Regions from separate parts of the Homo sapiens genome. Here all the other regions are linked to region 1. The links are contacts of gene promoters, found by promoter capture Hi-C in blood cells and fetal thymus (Javierre and others, 2016). All regions are on one chromosome and are shown on one strand. Each heading gives the region's core, a stretch centred on a gene start or on the middle of the fragment in contact. The rest is flanking DNA. Distances are from core to core; before and after follow the strand shown. Region 1 holds the start of LOC105374745 (a long non-coding RNA gene). Region 2 holds the start of OXCT1-AS1 (OXCT1 antisense RNA 1). Region 3 holds the start of FBXO4 (F-box protein 4).

Region 1 (2,897 bases), core at 236-2,735:
GAACCCGGGACCTGGCAGCAGCAAGTCTGAGACCGAGATCGGCTCCCCGCGTCCTGAGCATGCAAGTCAAGGAGCACGAAGCTGAGACATTTAAAATCAGTAGAAAAAAATACATAACATTTAAATAGAAATACAATTTAAAAATAATAGAAGCCTAAAATGCAAGTAGAAATGAAAGGCAAGCACATCGGTAATGTCGTTCTCAGAGCAAGACACAAAAAGACAATTAAAAAATAAGCAAAAATTGCTGACAACCATTCCTACAAAGAAGAAATTACAAATGTTTGTAATGCAATCCTACGATTAGGATATCCCTATCCGATCTAAACCAGTACATGTTACACCTAAGTCTAAATTTCCTACCAAATTAAATAAATAAATAAATAACAGTCATGGTTAAACCTGTTTAGCTTAGACTATAAAATGGTAGGAAAAAAAGTCGCTTTCGGCGGGACTTGCTATTGTCAACTGGGGCTTGGCAAAACTGAAAAATCCCGTTTGCCTGCATTTCCTGACTTCCAGGGGAGTTTAAAAAACACAGGCCTAGCTAAGGCGGGACCCGCTATTGTGAAACCAAACTTAGTATAAGAGCTCCCAGGCCCTGCTAAACTGGTCATCGCTAAGCAAAAAAAAAAAAAAAAACCGCATTCGCTGGTACCCAGATTTCTACAGGAGTTAAACGTCTCCTGAGCAGCTAAAGCAGAGCTTACTAGTAAGAAACTTGCAATGACTAAGGAACTTGAGGCAGGGCTAACCCGGGGTTGTTAGGATTAGAATTCCGAGGCTACAGGAAACCCGGAATTGCTGAGATGTGAGTCACAGGGTGACTCAGCCTCGTTACGATGAAACAGTAACTTCCTACTACCTAGAAATCGCAGCCAGGGCCAGACCGGTGTTTGTCCTAAGTCGGAACTTGATTGGGCTGAGAAATCACATTGTGACTATTCCACGACTTGAACAAGGGGTAGAAATCGCAGGCACCGCGAAATAGAAACTTCCTAGGACCAAGAAGCCAACGACGCCCGAAACCGTGGGGTCCTGTCACAGAAACCCCAGCAGCGCAGCCACCGGACTGGGTTCTGGAGGCCGAGCCGCAGTCCGTGCGGCGGCGCTGGGAAGAGAAGGCGCCCCGGCAGCTCCCCTGCCACCGGCCCCGAGGAGCGGCTGGCTCCCCCAGCCCAGCGCCGCCGCCGCCCGGTAACTCCAGGCGCAACTGGGCGCAACTGGGGCAGCTGCGACACCGAATCCCTCACATCTGCAACCTGGGTGCTGCGGCCACTGAGAAAATGGAGGCGCAGACCAACGAGCGGTGCCGCGACCGAGAGACCTCGGCTGGCGAAATGGTGGTGCCGGGAGCCTGCGAGTGACGCCAGCCGGCGGGGTTGTCAAGGACAACATTCGTTTTGACGCAGCCAATGGCGCCGTCACCAAGAAACCATCGACTCTGAGAAAAAAGAGAGGTTCGGCCACCGAGAAACTCCGTACGACAAGTGCTGTGGCAGAAAAACCGCCTACTCCGCGCCACAGGCAAAACAGCCAATGGAAACCCCAGGTGCTGCGACCGTGACACCGGCACTAGAGGGTCTCGGATGGAGAAAGCGGCGCACGGAGACCAGGAAACTATGTGTAGCACAACTAGCAGAAAACCGTCTGGTCGGCCATCCGGGAGAAAGCGCGGATCAGAAACAAGCGACTTCGATGCAGGGAACCGCGCAGCCACTGAAGAAAGTGACCCACGTGGCAGTGGTGCCAGCGAAACACTGCAGTTTGGACGGCAGCTGTGGGGATGCCACAGAGAAACATGCACTGCCACTGAAGTACATCCAGCTCCGCGGAGCTAGTGTTCATATGATCAAGAAACCGCCAGTTGGGCTCTGCTAGAAACTTTTAGTCCTCCCTTAACGGCTATCCTACCCACAACAGACAATGCCTTTACCCAGCACCTAGCGGTGCTGAGACCCGCCTGGGCCAGCACAGAGCGCAGAGCAGTACGGGTACGGAGAAACGCCGGACTCAGTGAAACCAGCCTTGCCTCCAGCGGATTCCCCGGCTTCGCCGGACGCCACAGGCAGAGTGCCGCGGGGAAACCTCTGGCTCCCTAAACCGATTAGATTGTGGGAGTGGGGGGGACACTCACAAGTTGTGTGGAAGGGAACCAGCGGCAATGGGACCCGGCGAGCACTTGCCCGCAGCAAATGCCTGCGCTGCTGCAAAAAAAACAACTTTTGGCGCAAAGAATGTTGCGGCCAGAGAGCATCCGCTGTCGCTGACAAAGGAGTAGCAATGGCAATGAGAAACCGCCGGCGCCACGGCCGACCGCGGCGGCTCACGCCTATGATCCTTGCAGTTTGGGAGGCCGAGGTGGGCGCATTACTTGAGATCAGGAGACTAGCCTGGCCAACAAGGTGAAACCCCATCTCTACTAAAATACAAAAGATTAGCCGGTTGTGGTGGCAGGCACCTGTAATCCCAGCTACTCCGGAGGCTGAGGCAGAAGAATCGATTGAACTCAGGAGGCAGAGGTTGCAGTGAGCCAAGATCGCGCCACTGCACTCCAGCCTGGGAGACAGAGTGAGCTCCGTCTCAAAAAAAAGAAAGAAACCGCTGGCGCCGGGAAAGGAGCCGTGCAGCGATGGACCCATGGTGCGCTCCGTGCTACCAAAGTGCTGTGGCCTCTACCCACTCTCGATTCCCAAGGCTGTTTTTCGGGCTTAGGGAAGTCTGTTATATTTTTATTTCTGCTTCTTTCTTTTCTTTCTTTTATTTCTTTCTTTCTTTTTCTTTCTTTCATTCTTTCTTTTTCTTTTTCTTTCTTCTTTCCTTTCTTTCTCTCTTTCCTTTTTTTCTTTTTCTCTTTATTTCTTTTTTCTTTATTTTTTTTTTTAACAGTATCTTGC
Region 2 (2,897 bases), core at 224-2,723, 1.1 Mb before region 1:
ACTAAAAATACAAAAAATTAGCCGGGCGTAGTGGCGGGCGCCTGTAGTCCCAGCTACTTGGGAGGCTGAGGCAGGAGAATGGCGTGAACCCGGGAGGCGGAGCTTGCAGTGAGCCGAGATCCCGCCACTGCACTCCAGCCTGGGCGACAGAGCGAGACTCCGTCTCAAAAAAAAAAAAACAATAAGGGCACTAAGAGCCACAAGCTAGGGGAATAGTGGAAGGCAGGAGTTAGACCTATGATAATCAAGCCTGACAGGGCTAAGTTTGAACTCTGTATGAACTTTTAATGAGATATAGCAGAACCCCTTATTTGCATCTCGTCCCTCTAAGATGAGGTTTGCTGAGCTTCGGAAATGGTTTAATGATATACTCAAGATGGAAAAGACTTGAAGTGAGTAAATTACAGTTGGGCAAATCAGTAACTGTCAAAAGAAGGAACGTTCCTGACCTCGGCCCAAGGGTATCGCTGTGCTCTGGTTTGTATTAGCTTCAGCACCGCTGCAATCTCACTGAAGGTCAAGTTCCCTTTTAATAATGCTTTATATATCCAAGTCTATCTGCAGTTATAAAAATGCTTCCTAAGAGGCATTTAAGAGTAAAATGGTCCAGTTCTGAACCATTCCCTAGCACCTACCGAAGGAGCTCAGTGGCTCCTCTGTGTTCTCAGCGGTCAGGGATTGGATGCAGGAAAGAGCAATGGGGCCAGGCAGGCACGCTTCAGGAGTAAGCACCGTGTGCATGGCACGCTGTCAAGCTCAGACCTATTACTGAATACCAAGGAAGAGGCTCCCGCGATTGAGACGGCGGGGATAAAGCCACCCTCCTGGACCTGGCGCTCTGGTCCTGTAATTCGCTCCTAGGGCTCCAGACAGGGGTGGGCTTACAAGCGAGGACAGTGCATAAGGCAAAACCACAAGTCAGTCCACGGTGGGAATGCCTCCGGATACCACTCGGTGGAGAGTCGGCAGTGGGGCACAAAAAGGATTTCAAAGGGCTCTGAAAACCGAAAGCCCCTAACCCGGATACGAGGGGCCTCGAGAGAAAGGTTTGTCCTCCCCTGCAGCCCAGGCGCGGGCCAGGGACACACCTCGGATGGTTTCCCAGCTTGGCCGGCAAGACGCCCTGGCGAGCGCTCCAGTCTACGGGGCAGCAGAGCCAAATAGGGAGGAGAGGATGGGAGCGGCATTCCACACCCGCCGCACCCGGCATCCAGCCCCGGTGAACTCGAGCAGAGCCATGGCTAACCCAGCCTCAGGTTCTGGGCCTCTAGAGGTTCCTCTGCCCAGAGATCCAACATCGGGGGCGCAAACCTACCCGCTGTTGCCTCACTCCTAAACCTCCATATACTGGCGCCCTCCTCCCCCCGTTCAGACCCTCAGAGTCCCTATCCAAGGGCGGGTGCCAGGAGGGAAGCCGACGAGCGCCAAAGGGCTCGGGAGCGCTGCCAGGAGTCCTCCCGCCCCTTCTCAGCCTCTCCGCGCGCTTCTTTATCGCGTCTCGCTCCATCAGGGAAGCGACTGCAGAACCAAGCAAAGGCGGTCATCCGAGGGGCCGGCGAGGCCAGGAACGCGTCGCCGCGTGTCCGTGACCAGGGCACCGCGCCACGGATGCCAGATCCCAGGCTGGAGAGAGCGGGTAGGGGCAGAGAAGAAAACGCGGGCACCACTCAGGGTTTGGTCCACGTTCTTCCTGCCCATGGCCTTCCTCTTCCCCCGCACTTTACCTTGTACCAGGTTGCCCCAGATCCGCGGGCAGAGGCGCAGAGCCGAAGCCCGGAGGAGAGGAGTTTGAGAGCCGCCATCTTCGGGCGGTGAGGCAGGAGGAGGCTGCGGGTTGGAGCGCGCGTTTGAGCGTCGGTGCGCGACTGCGAAGGAAACCCGGGCGGGCTGGAGGCTCGACAGCGCGTCGATGACGTCCTCCCGGCCTTTCGAGCCGCACGCCACCGGCGCGCTGCTGGCTGCTGCTTTTAAAAGAAGTGAGGCTGGGCGGGGCCCCGGCGGGGAGAAGAGGCTCTGTGCAGCCGGGGCGGATCGCGGGGAAGTTCCTCTCAGCGCCTCAGGTGTCTGGGCGTGTGCAGCTGTGTTGGCGCACACTTGCCGCTACAGCCCTTCTGTCAGCCCTTTAGCTTCGATGGGGCGCTGGTGGCCGCCTCCCCCTAGGTTGTGGATGAGTCTTGGCCTAGGGTTCAGGGCCCTCCGGCCGCGGGAGGATCTCCCGCCAAGCTTGTTGCTTTTCCAAGTTAGTGCCTGGCGTGTGTGTGGGCTGCATAGGGGCACCCCTCGAGGCCCCCTTCTCTTCTCCCGCCTGGACTGCGTTCACGTTTCTAACATTTCTCAGCCCCTTCTCCCCACATCTGGCCTTGGCTTACATAGAGTAAGTTTGCTGTGAGCACTTGCCTCGAACTGTCGGTCAAGAGGTGTGAGCAACAAGGCTTGCAGAGGAACAAGATTAAGACTGGACCTCTGTGACCTGAGTTTAGCACACCTTTTCTTCCCCATCATCCAAGTTTGCGAATTTCGGGCTCTTTCTCGCACTGGAGTCCCAGCAACCCCAGAGATTACTAAAGATGCAACCATAAAAGCAGTATATTGCTTTAACCTTAGGCAAGTTAGATAACTTCCCTAAGCCTCAGTGTCCTCATCTGCAAATTAGGATTGCTTGTGATACAACGTCATAACGTTTCTATGAGTTAATTCATGCAAAGTTTATGGCCTTATTATGAGGAGTCAATAAATGTTAGGCATTATTATAAGTTTATTCCATTGTAGCAGTTCATTGACATGGCACGTACATATTCGCCAAGCCTTGTCTTTTGACCAACTCCTTGAGGACATGAGCCACGACTGATTTCTCCAGAACTGTCTTTGCACTTAGCAGAGTGGAAAGACCAAGTGGA
Region 3 (2,897 bases), core at 130-2,629, 1.0 Mb before region 1:
GGGAAGTTAAACACTGACTCGGTATTTGGTGATTTTAATGAATTAAAATTGCTTAGGTACAGTGGTCTGTTTCTTAAAATCTGTTTTTTTTAGGGACGGATACTGAGATATTTACAGATGATAGGTCTGGGATTTGTTTCAAAAGGATCCAGAATTGGGGGTGTAGTATTAGGTGAGTATAGCAACAGCACAAGATTAACCAGGTGTTGGTAATGGAATCTTGGATACTGGGCACACAGGAGCATATTATTCACTCTCCTTTTATAAATGTTCAAAATTTTCCGTAATAAAGTTTTTCTCATTCATTTAACAGATATCATTTTAATACTTTATACTTGAACTGATTTTTTTTCTTGCTCTAGTTCGTTTTTTGCTCTCAAAGTAAATCGTGTCCTAGAAAGTGATGAGAAATGCCATATGGTTAATCCGTGGTCCTTGTCCAGATTGCCTCCCAAAAACGAGGCTGCAATTTTATTGGTTATTGGCCCCTACCAACAACATGCAAATAATAAAATGTAATGAAACTTAAACTTGTATGTTACAGAGCCTTGCAGAACCTTAGTTATCAGGCTTTCTTGGATTCTGTTGACATTTAGATCCTCAGAGATTTACTTTTTGAATGTATACATACCCAGTTCTATGTAACAGATTAACTTGTAATACGTTCTCTTAAAGCACTTTTAAAGTAAGCCCAAAGTAAGTAGAATGGGCATCTGGTTTGAGAATTAAAAAACTCACTAGTGGGATTTCAACACCACCACATCTGGGTTCTTCTAGCCGTTTTTTGCCGCCCTTGCAAATTTTAAATGTGCTTATATTTTTGCATAGTGGGTCCAGACTTCTCATTTTGGCAAAAGGTTCTTTGTAATTGGCCCGCTGACTGCCTCTCTAGTCTGTTTTTGCTGATACTCAAGAAAATAAATGGTAACTTGGTGATTGAGGAAATAACACACACAAAAAACACCCCATACGTAGTATGGTAGTGCTGAAAAGGAAGCAAGTGGTTATTAAGCCCAAGACAGTGGCAGAGGTCTATCGAACAAGCGGAGTCGCCTAGGACCAGGCATAGTGGAAATGATCCCGGAGAGAACATCTTGAATGAAGCCAGGAAGTCAGCGGGCCAGAGGTTGTACAGGGGCTCTGCGGTTGGCGTGGCTGAGGTTGAGGCCACAAGTTACTGGGGAAGTTAATTGTTGACAGGAGCTTCGTACTCGGCTCACAGCCACGCACAGTGGGCTTCCTCCCAGTACCCGCCCTTGCCCCTGGGCCTAACCCTGCCCTGGAGGCGGACTCGCGGGAGAAGCGGGAGGCGGAACGCCCGAGGGCGCCCTCGGCTGGCGCGGAGCTGCGCAGGAGGCTGACGCGCTAGCGTGGCTCTAAGACGCGTCACCCACGCTGCGGGCAAGCCATGGCGGGAAGCGAGCCGCGCAGCGGAACAAACTCGCCGCCGCCGCCCTTCAGCGACTGGGGCCGCCTGGAGGCGGCCATCCTCAGCGGCTGGAAGACCTTCTGGCAGTCAGTGAGCAAGGAGAGGGTGGCGCGTACGACCTCACGGGAGGAGGTGGATGAGGCGGCCAGCACCCTGACGCGGCTGCCGGTGAGCGTCGGCCGCAGGCCGCGGAGGACAGTGGGGCCGGCCCGGGCCGGAGGGACCTCCCCTGGAGCCCCCCGGGGCCTGGGGAACTCTCGCGCCCCGGCCTGGGTCTGGCTCCGTCCATGCAGCCATTCCTGGCAGTGTAGTCACCGAGAAGCTACAGTTGATCAGAAGCGTCTTGGCGTGGACCCTGGTGCTCCGCAGGGGGCCCGAACATCTCAGGGAAGCACCTTCATGGGGCCCCTGGGGACCCTCCCGATCGCCCTCAGGTTTTCCACCCGCCAAAACAGGCACATGTGACTAGGACACCCTGAATGTCCGGTTACGGAAATGAGACAGTTCCCAACTTGCTGATTAGCTTGGGAAAGCATTCCAGCGTCCCTGTTCCCAGCGTCTTTGATTCCGGATCACTGTACCAAAACACTTGGAGGGCCAAGGTTTTTACCCTCTCAAGAGGACATTGTGCCTGTGGCTGTTATTGTGTATTTGAAGAAACAAAACGGCCCCTCAGTTGAAAATAAATGACTTAAGTTACAAGTGCCTCAAGTTACATCAAGGCCACGAGAATGACACACATAACTTATTGTTAAACTTTGGGGTAGATAGGTAAATGAAGAGAACAAAAATTATTGAAAATTATTACAATTCTTTGTCTCATTTGGACTATTGACACCTCTCTCCAATGTGTATATCAACGTGAAAGCTGCAGGTTTAGAATGCCTCCAAGTTTCTCCTTGCAGAGGTTTTTCATAACATTTTAATAGATTCTGTAGAGGAACTAAGATGACAAATTTACGGCCGGGCGCGGTGGCTCACGCCTGTAATCCCAGCACTTTGGGAGACCCAGGTGGGCGGATCACGAGGTCAGGAGATCAAGACCATCCTGGCTAACACGGTGAAACCCCGTCTCTACTAAAAATATAAAAAATTAGCCGGGCTTGGTGGCAGGCGCCTGTAGTCCCAGCTACTTGGGAGGCTGAGGCAGGAGCATGGCGTGAACCTGGGAGACGGAGCTTGCAGTGAGCCGAGATCTTGCCACTGCACTCCAGCCTGGGCGACAGAGCGAGACTGTGTCTCAAAAAAGAAAAAGACAAATGTACACTCTTTGATTTGGTCTGATGATAAAATCAGATAAAGGTTGATATGGGTTTTATTTTGAAGGACAAATTATTTCCTTAACTAATTTATGTAACTAACTGGTATATCCAAATATCTCTGAGGAAAAATTAAAGGAACTGGTGATTTTGCTGGAAAAATAGCAAGACAGTGGTTGCTTTTTCAGGAATGTTTCAGGTGTTTCAGA

What was found. The method cuts DNA at HindIII sites, captures the fragments that hold promoters and counts their contacts. A CHiCAGO score of 5 or more calls a contact.
Region 2: the fragment with the promoter of OXCT1-AS1 here is called in contact with a fragment that was not itself captured in region 1 in 1 of 17 cell types (total CD8 T cells); the score reaches 6.6 in total CD8 T cells.
Region 3: the fragment with the promoter of FBXO4 here is called in contact with a fragment that was not itself captured in region 1 in 4 of 17 cell types (monocytes, M0 macrophages, total B cells and 1 more); the score reaches 6.7 in monocytes.

The regions. Positions count from the first base shown.
Region 1 is chr5:42,950,003-42,952,899 of GRCh38, forward strand. LOC105374745 (a long non-coding RNA gene) reads left to right here and starts at 887. Exons shown (of 3, transcript XR_925964.3): 1 at 887-2,897. RefSeq lists enhancers at 421-1,620, 665-959, 721-780, 757-1,279, 757-901 and 2 more, a cis regulatory region at 824-834 and a silencer at 1,071-1,170. The HindIII fragment of the contact is 4,864 bases long and covers 1-2,897 here.
Region 2 is chr5:41,868,557-41,871,453 of GRCh38, forward strand. It overlaps OXCT1-AS1 (OXCT1 antisense RNA 1), which reads left to right and starts at 1,474. Exons shown (of 3, transcript NR_046635.1): 1 at 1,474-1,636; 2 at 1,735-1,826; 3 at 2,210-2,897. OXCT1 (3-oxoacid CoA-transferase 1) reads right to left here and starts at 1,869. Exons shown (of 17, transcript NM_000436.4): 1 at 1,725-1,869. The coding sequence starts at 1,802. It overlaps LOC102723752 (a long non-coding RNA gene), which reads left to right. Exons shown (of 3, transcript XR_925956.4): 1 at 1-1,046. RefSeq lists enhancers at 1,506-1,585, 2,416-2,465. The HindIII fragment of the contact is 3,584 bases long and covers 1-2,221 here.
Region 3 is chr5:41,923,902-41,926,798 of GRCh38, forward strand. It overlaps FBXO4 (F-box protein 4), which reads left to right and starts at 1,380. Exons shown (of 7, transcript NM_012176.3): 1 at 1,380-1,597. The coding sequence starts at 1,409. RefSeq lists a silencer at 1,638-1,817. The HindIII fragment of the contact is 6,278 bases long and covers 1-2,897 here.